Linked DNA regions of Homo sapiens: region 2 is linked to region 1. Evidence: promoter capture Hi-C in 16 types of primary human blood cells and fetal thymus (Javierre and others, 2016). All regions are on one chromosome and are shown on one strand. The core of a region is centred on a gene start or on the middle of the fragment in contact, and the rest is flanking DNA. Distances in the headings are between cores, read along the strand shown.

What was found. Contacts are between HindIII fragments. The CHiCAGO score rates a contact against its expected background, and 5 or more counts as called.
Region 2: the fragment with the promoter of PSMB5 here is called in contact with a fragment that was not itself captured in region 1 in 1 of 17 cell types (neutrophils); the score reaches 6.0 in neutrophils.

What each region holds. Positions count from the first base shown.
Region 1 is chr14:22,567,156-22,571,442 of GRCh38, reverse strand. All of the region lies in intron 2 of DAD1 (defender against cell death 1), which reads left to right. Among named protein-coding and RNA genes, the nearest start is that of LINC02332, 12 kb to the right of the region's middle. RefSeq lists an enhancer at 427-1,149. The HindIII fragment of the contact is 9,980 bases long and covers 1-4,287 here.
Region 2 is chr14:23,033,073-23,037,392 of GRCh38, reverse strand. PSMB5 (proteasome 20S subunit beta 5) reads left to right here and starts at 2,493. Exons shown (of 3, transcript NM_002797.5): 1 at 2,493-2,709; 2 at 3,719-4,025. The coding sequence starts at 2,512. RefSeq lists enhancers at 2,019-2,313, 2,098-2,767, 1,568-2,767. The HindIII fragment of the contact is 18,957 bases long and covers 1-4,320 here.

The DNA.
Region 1 (4,287 bases), core at 871-3,370:
CATATTTTTGAATGAATCCATGACAGAAAGAAGCTCAGTGGATTTCAGTATTTAAAAATGTATATACTTTAGTTTTTTCCATGTTTGTTCTTCTGTGTTTCTTTGTGAAATTCTTTTTTTTTTTTTTTTGAGACAGAGTCTTACTGTCTTGCCCAGGCTAGAGTGCAGTGGTGCAGTCTTGGCTCACTGCAACCCTGCCTCCCGGGTTCAAGCAATTCTCCTGCCGCAGCCTCCCCGAGTAGCTGGGACTACAGGCACTTGCCCGGCTAGTTTTTGTATTTTTAGTAGAGATGGGGTTTCACTCTGTTGGCTAGGCTGGTGTTGAACTCCTGTCCTCGTGATCCACTCGCCTTGGCCTCCCAAAGTGCTGGGATTACAGGCGTGAGCCACTGCACCTGGCCTGTGAAACTCTTTTTTAAAAAAAAAAAAAAAAATCTCAGTCCATCTCAGGTGTTCTGAAGGGTAATGAGGAAAAGAAGGACAGAACTGTATTGGATCACAGTTTGAGAATTAAAGTTCCTGATGAATTGGGCCCTGGGTCAGAAGGAAGGGTGAACTGGGCCCAAAGGGACAAAACCTTGCTTGAAAATGTGCTCAGCTCCCAGGGAGATAGTTGCCAAATGCCTGTGCCTTGTTAGCATTGTTTTGTTTTTATAATGGAGACCATTCTCTCACAAGTCTTAAAAAATTCAGTGTTTGATCCTAGCTGGAACAAGGGGGCTACAGGGTTGGGCAGAACATTTTAAACTCTGACTGGCAGCACTGTTTACAAACATGAAATTATGTTGGCTTTTCGAATTCAGTTAAAGTATAGTAATCTAGAAAATTACCTCGGGAAGGGGAACTTGATGTTATTCTGTGGGCTTTGCTGCCACCTAGTGGATGGTATGTTTCATGTGTTGAGCGGCTACTACAAAACATGAGGAGTTGAGTTTGGGGGAAGAAGCTACTGATACCTGTGTTAAAAAACCTAGTTTCTTTCCAGTCATTGGGGGGCAGCAGAGGTCCAGGAGGGTTTAGATGCTGGGTTGGGGGTTGCTTTACATTCTGGCCAGAAGTGGGCAATGTCGAGTTAGGAACAAAAGGGCATAGAACCCTAAAGTGGCCCTAGATTTTGTTGTGTGGGGGAAGACCAAGACTGTGCACATAGACCCGCAGGTTTCCCGTTTGATTTCTTTTTTTCACCTCCTTAGTTTGAGAGCTTCTTTTTTTGGTTTGTTCTACGTCTTTTATTCTCAATGGTGACCTCCCACGCAATAATCTTTAATTTTTTGTTGGTGGAGGGGCCCATTTAGTTTTTATTTCATTTTCTCTTTGATATTTCCACCTTATATTGAATTAGGTCCTGCCGCCAAATAAGCTCTCTCAGAGGGAACTGTCCTACATTTGTAGGAAATCTGAGGTAGTCACATCATAACTTTTTTCAACTCATTTTTCTCTGTTTAGAAGGTGAGATTAATTATATATTTTTTTATGTGCTGGGGTCTCGCTACGTTGCCCAAGCTGGGAACTCCCTGGGGTCAAGTGATCCTCCTGCCTGAGGCTTCTGTGTAGCTGGACCTACAGGTGTGTCACAGTGCCTGGCTCTGAGATTAGTTCTTTACCTTTCATTCTTAAAACTTTGAATCTACTTATTTTATTTGCTAAAAAGTGCTAATTGATGACTTTACTTGTTTATTGAACTCTATTTTATATTTGGTGTATTTAAGGCTACCAAAGAAAAAAGAATATCGAAATAGATTTATATTTATGAATTTCATTGCTGCCCTAACTTACTGCCTTATTTTCTCCATCCTCCCAGCTTGGATGACTCCTATTCCAAGTCATTCCCACCCCTCAGGTTGCATAGGAGCCCTTAGTCTACTGCATTCCTCCAGTGCTGCACTTATCACATTGTTATGAAACTATTCATTCACTTTCTTCTCTCTCCCACTGGACTCAATTGTGAACAGTAACAGTGTGTGTTTGTTGAATGAGTGTATGAATGAATAAACCTTTTTTTTTTTTTTTGAGACGGAGTCTCGCTTTGTTGTCCAGGCTGTAGTGCAGTGGCATGATCTTGGCTCACTATAACCTCCGCCTCCTGGGTTTAAGCAGTTCTCCTGCCTCAGCCTCTTGAGTAGCTGGGACTACAAGTGTGTGCTCCCACGCCTGGCTAATTTTTGTATTTTTAGGAGAGACATGGTTTCACCATGTTGGCCAGTATGGTCTCTATCTTTTGACTTTGTGATCTGCCTACCTTAGCCTCCCAAAGTGCTGGAATTACAGGCATGAGCCACTGTGCCCGGCCAAATAAACACTTTTTAACTGCAAGAAAAAGTTATGTTATTAAGTTACTTGGATGCTAAAACATGGAAAGTGGTACGAAAGAAAAAAAGCCAAGGCAAAGATTCATAGGAGAGGCTGTGGGGTGGGGAAGAGCATGAGACAAGAAGTCAGAGGAGGGGCTGGTGCGGTGGCTTAGGCCTGTAATCCCAGCACTTGGGGAGGCCAAGGTGGGAGGATCGCTTGAGCCCAGGAGTTTGAGACCAGCATGGGTGATATAGCAAGACCTTGTCTCTACCAAAAATCAAAAGAATTAGAGGGGCGTGGTGGCGTGTGCCTGTGGTCCCAGCTACTCAGAAGGCTGAGGTGGAAGGATTGCTTGAGCGTGGGAGGTCACGGCTGCAGTGAACTGTGATCATGCCACTTGCACTCCAGCCTGAGTGACAGAGTGAGAACCTGTCTCAAAAAAAAAAAAAAAAAAATCAGAAGACTTGTATTGTAGGCTTTGCTCTGTTAACTAGTTGAATGGACAAATAAACTTACCTCTGAGCCTCAGTTTCTCTGTCTGTGTTGTGAGAGGATTGGTCTGGATGTTCATCAAAGTCTCTTGCCACTGTTAATGCCTCTCAGCATGATTCTTGATGGTTCTTTTGTGTTTGAGGAGGATTGTACTGTTTTTGTTGATCCTCATTTGGGCTTTGCTTTCTGTTTTCTCCTTAATCGTTGCTTTTTATTCATATTTTCAGATTCCCATTATCCATTTATAGGAGGCAGAAAGTTAAATGATTATAACAAGATGCACATATTTGTATGAAGCCTTTTACAAAAAGTAAACATTTGTAAAATGTCTTCTAGTTCCCACGTTAACAGGCTTGTAGGATTCACATACATTCCACATATACTTTTACATACATCAGCTCATGTGATCCTTCCTTCCTACCCAGTGATGTGGAGACAGACAAATAGTAGTATTCCTATTTTACACTTGAGGTAATTACACCTTGGTGAAACTTTAGTTGATGTATCCAGGCCCTGGAACTAATAAGTGACTGAGGGGGAACTGGATAACAGACATTTGGACTCTAAACCTTTATATTCCTTCCTGTTATGTTTAGGACTCTCAGATGATGGCTTTATATATATGTCATGTTAGAGGGTTTTCATTAAAAATATTAAACTTTTCTTTTTAAGAAATTTTTATTTATTTTAAATTTTCATCAGAGCCATCAGACTGGATTCTTTTCTTTTTTAAATGGGAAAAATTTGGCAGAGATTGATAGGAAAGGATGAAGGCCGGCTATCTCAAATGTTTCTGCATAGTTGGCCATACTTAATATGGTCCAGGAGAAATGGAGGAGAATGCAGGTCAGGAGACCTGACTTTGGCTAGGGAGGGTGATCCTGGACCAGCACTGTCCAACAGAGCTTTTTGCAGTGGGGAAACATTCAGGGTCTGCACCGCCCATTATGGTAACCACTAGCCACATGTGGTTATTGAACATTTGAAATGTGGCTAACAGACTGAAGAACTGAATTTTTAATTTAACTTTGACTAAGTTTAAATAGTCACCTGTGTCTAGTGGCTGTGGTGTTGGACAGCACAGCTCTGGACAGATTTGTCAACACTATCAGGTTACAGTTTTCTCATCTCTGTAATGAAAGGATTAAAGAAGCTGATCTCTAAAGCTCCTTTCATTTTTTAGAAATACACAGTCTGTGCCTTCTAAAACTGGTGATTCAAATTGAGCTGTAAACCTAGAATTTCTGCAGAATGGTCTTTGATTCACATTATTTCTAATTTCAGTTTTAATTGGGTGACTAGAATCCAGGATGAGATGAATTTGAAGGAAAATCAGTATTTGAACATATCTGCCCAGTGCTAGTGTCTGAATAGAGATATTGCTGGAGAAGAATACAGATTCCAAATAGAAATGACCCTGGCTGGCATTATCTTTTCTATCTCTACAGCGTCATTTTTAACAGTTCTTTGTGTTATGCCTTGCTTTCTTTTTAGATGATTAGA
Region 2 (4,320 bases), core at 1,244-3,743, 470 kb before region 1:
TTGAATCCAGGAGGTAGAGGTTGCAGTGAGCCAATATTGCGCCACTGCACTCCAGCCTGGGCGACAGAGCGAGACTCCATCTCAAAAAAATAAAATAAAATAAGGAGAATATTTCAGCAATTCCAGAATGAGGACATAAGAAGCCAAAGGTGGTATCAGTTGTAATGAAAAAGAATGTGAGAAACACTGAAGTGGAAATAATCAACAGGACCATGCAACTAACTGGATATGAAGGAAAGAAAAAAGCTGTAAAAGATAAGCAAGGACTTCAAGCCTTTTTGACTAGAAGACCACTGCTGTCATTCTTTCAGGTGTTCATTTGGCAAATATGTATTAAGCATACAGTGGGTACAGAAATGAATAGTAAGTACTTGTATTTAAAAGCTCACAATCCGGTAGGAGATAAATGTAATTTCTAACCAGGTAAAATGTAAAAGGGCCTTAAGAGAGGTACACATGCTATCAGTGGCAGAGTGAAAAACCACTGGAAGGAGGCAGAAAGACTAGTTGCACTGCAGGGGTGACTGCAAAATAATATATGCTCAGTAAACAGACGCACTCCGCATTTTCCACATCATCCAAGTGTGAAACACAAAGATCTCCTGTTTAATTCTATTCTGATGATTGGGCTTGGAAAGGGTTGCCAATTTCAGCATTAAAAATACAGCATAGGCCAGGCGCAGTGGTTCACACCTGTAATCCCAGCACTTTGGGAGGCCGGGGCAAGCGGATCACCTGAGGTCAAGAGTTTGAGACCAGCGTGGCCAATATGGTGAAACCCCATCTCTACTAAAAATACAAAAATTAGCCAGGCGTGAGGCCGGGCACGGTGGCTCATGCCTGTAATCCCAGCACTTTGGGAGGCCGAGGTGGGTGGATCACGAGGTCAGGAGATCAAGACCATCCTGGCTAACAAGCGGATCACCTGAGGTCAAGAGTTTGAGACCAGCGTGGCCAATATGGTGAAACCCCATCTCTACTAAAAATACAAAAATTAGCCAGGCGTGAGGCCGGGCACGGTGGCTCATGCCTGTAATCCCAGCACTTTGGGAGGCCGAGGTGGGTGGATCACGAGGTCAGGAGATCAAGACCATCCTGGCTAACACGGTGAAACCCCGTCTCTACTAAACACACACACACACACACACACACACACACACACACACACACACACAAATTAGCCTGTTGTGGAGGCAGGCGCCTGTAATCCCAGCTACTCGGGAGGCTGAGGCAGGAGAATCGCTTGAACCTGGGAAGCAGAGGTTGCAGTGAGCAGAGATCGTGCCACTGTGTTCCAGCCTGGGGGACACAGCAAGACTTGGTCTCAAAAAACAAACAAACAAACAAACAAAAACAATACAGCATATGCAGAGTCTGCTGGGGGAAAGATGGGGCCGAACTGGGCATCAGAGGAAAGTGGAATTTCGGTGTTGATAGATGTTGCTGCTAGAATCCAACAAGGAAGGCCAGAGACTGACTTCATAGAACCATAAAGCAGGAGGCAACATTTCATACATATGCACACTTCCCGGTTTGTTATAGTTCCCAAAAGATTTGAAAAATGAAGGTGGGTGGAGGGAGGAAGAGGCAATGAAATATAGTATGTTCCTGAATAAAAGGCATCATCTTAGCAAGTTGAAGTTAGAGAATCTCTTGGTACATATTTATGCAGTCTCAACCGTCCTCCCGTCTCTGAGATGGTAAATTACTACTGACACTTATTCAGGTCTGAACTGAGAATCTAGTTTGTGGATTAACTGGACCCTTTGCTTTTTCTTCTTCCATCTGCCTTTTAGGCAATTCATTACTTATTCGAATTTCCACCAGAAGGTAGGAGTCAAGAGAACGAATATTGGATATTAATAACCGGTTACTGTTAAAGAAGGGTTGCTGTATGGCGACTGACAACAAGAGGTATAGCACTTTTATTTTGTTGCGTTGTTTTACCACTAATTGCTGTGGTTTAACTAATATAGGGAAATGGCCTCAGAATGGATCATTATTTTACCCAATTTTAGAAGGTGCCCTTAAACAAGATGGCAACCTCAGGCGCGTTAACAAGGTGCTGAAGCAGCAGCGATGTAACCTGTTGCTTGGACACCAGGCTGGAGTGGGAGGACTCACCGCTAAGGGTTCAGAACCGATTTTCAACCAGTCACGCCCTTCTCAAAGATGGCCGACCTCACTTCCCTTACGCAACATGGACGTTTTCAGTCACTTCCTGTGATTTTGAGGTTATTCTGATCCAGGACTACTTGCATGACCAAAGCCAAGATGGCAGGTACGTCCTTTTAGAATTTAAGGTTAGTGAAGCCATCTATTTCCCCGACCCCCTTCAGTGAAAATGGTCTTTCGCATCTGGCTCTTCTTTTTGGAGGCGTGCTTGCCAGCAGTCAAAATGGCTCCATTCCGGAATAGATTTAATAGGAAGTGAAGCTGTGACGGCGAGGCGTTGCCCGGCCTATCTTTGCTAGGCGTTCTCAGAATTAGTTCTTTCTGCCCACACTAGACATGGCGCTTGCCAGCGTGTTGGAGAGACCGCTACCGGTGAACCAGCGCGGGTTTTTCGGACTTGGGGGTCGTGCAGATCTGCTGGATCTAGGTCCAGGGAGTCTCAGTGATGGTCTGAGCCTGGCCGCGCCAGGCTGGGGTGTCCCAGAAGAGCCAGGAATCGAAATGCTTCATGGAACAACCACCCTGGCCTTCAAGGTGTGGAGCCAGCCCCCTTGCCAGGCTGAGTACTGAACGCCCGCGACTTGCCTGGCCTCCCAGCCTGACCGGAGTTTGCGGTGGCCTTGGCCACCAACCCAGGCGGAGGCTGGGTCCTCTCGTTCGGACCGCAGCAGTTTTGCTGTCTCATTGGCCCAGGAGGCCCCTGTCTTTGCTCTGGTTGGAAAGGGTGGCGGTGGGGCCGGGGGTAAGTCGGGGGAGGAAGGTGAGGCCTCTTGGGTTGATTCCTAGGCGACCCCAGGTTGCTGCTGTTCAGGATCTTCTAGCTGGGAAAGGCCGCAACAACAATGAATCTTGGCCGAGGGAAGGCTATTGTAAACGTTTACCAAAGTTTTGGAAACTGGGCGGCCCCTCAAGGCAGGGGTAACTGAAACTGGCATGAAGGGGAAGCGTGGTGAGGGTAAGCATTGTACTAAGAATCAGACATTTGGGGTTCCTTGCCCAGCTCTGCAATAACTAGCTCTAGATTGAGAAATCATTTGATTTCATTGAACCTGTTTCCTCATCTATAAAATGATTTGTTTTTTTTTTTTTTTTGAAACAGGGCTTTTCGCTGTCGCTCAGGCTGGAGTGCAGTGGCTCCAGCGCCTCAGCCTCCAGAGTAGCTGACACTATAGGCACACACCACCACGACAGGCTAAGTTTTTTTACTTTTTGTAGAGATGGATCTCCCTGTGTTGCCCAGGCTGGTCTCCAGCACCTGGCCTCAAGCGGTCCTCCCGCCTTGGTCTCCCAAAATGCCTGGGTTACAGGAGTGAGCCACCACGCCCATCCTATAAAATGAATTTAATATGGGTTATATCCATGTCAAGGGATTGATGTGAAGCTCGGGTGACATTAATATATGGTGAAGTATAGAAGTATACTGTGAAGTATAAAAGGACGGAGAAAGAGATGTGCTGGGTTTGGATTGATGCAAAAAGAAGTATGTAGGAGTGTTTTTGTGGTCTTATGTGGCCTGTTTTGTGTTTTCCTCTGATCTTAACAGTTCCGCCATGGAGTCATAGTTGCAGCTGACTCCAGGGCTACAGCGGGTGCTTACATTGCCTCCCAGACGGTGAAGAAGGTGATAGAGATCAACCCATACCTGCTAGGCACCATGGCTGGGGGCGCAGCGGATTGCAGCTTCTGGGAACGGCTGTTGGCTCGGCAATGTCGAATCTATGAGCTTCGAAATAAGGAACGCATCTCTGTAGCAGCTGCCTCCAAACTGCTTGCCAACATGGTGTATCAGTACAAAGGCATGGGGCTGTCCATGGGCACCATGATCTGTGGCTGGGATAAGAGAGGCCCTGGTGAGTTAAGCTGCAACCACATGATCCTTGGGCTGACACTACAGTGAGGAGGGGTTGGATGGACAGATGAATTAAAGGGCTTGGTGTCAATGCTGAAGAAGTGTAATTAGGTCCTTAGCCCTTCCTTCTCTCTTTTTTTTTTTCCTGTTTTTTTAGACTGTGTCTCATTCTGTCGCTCAGGCTGGAGTGCAGTGGCATGATCTCAGCTCACTGCAGCCTCCGCCCCCAGGTTCAGGAATTCAAGACCAGCCTGGCCAACATGGCGAAACCCCATCTCTACTAAAAATACAAAAAT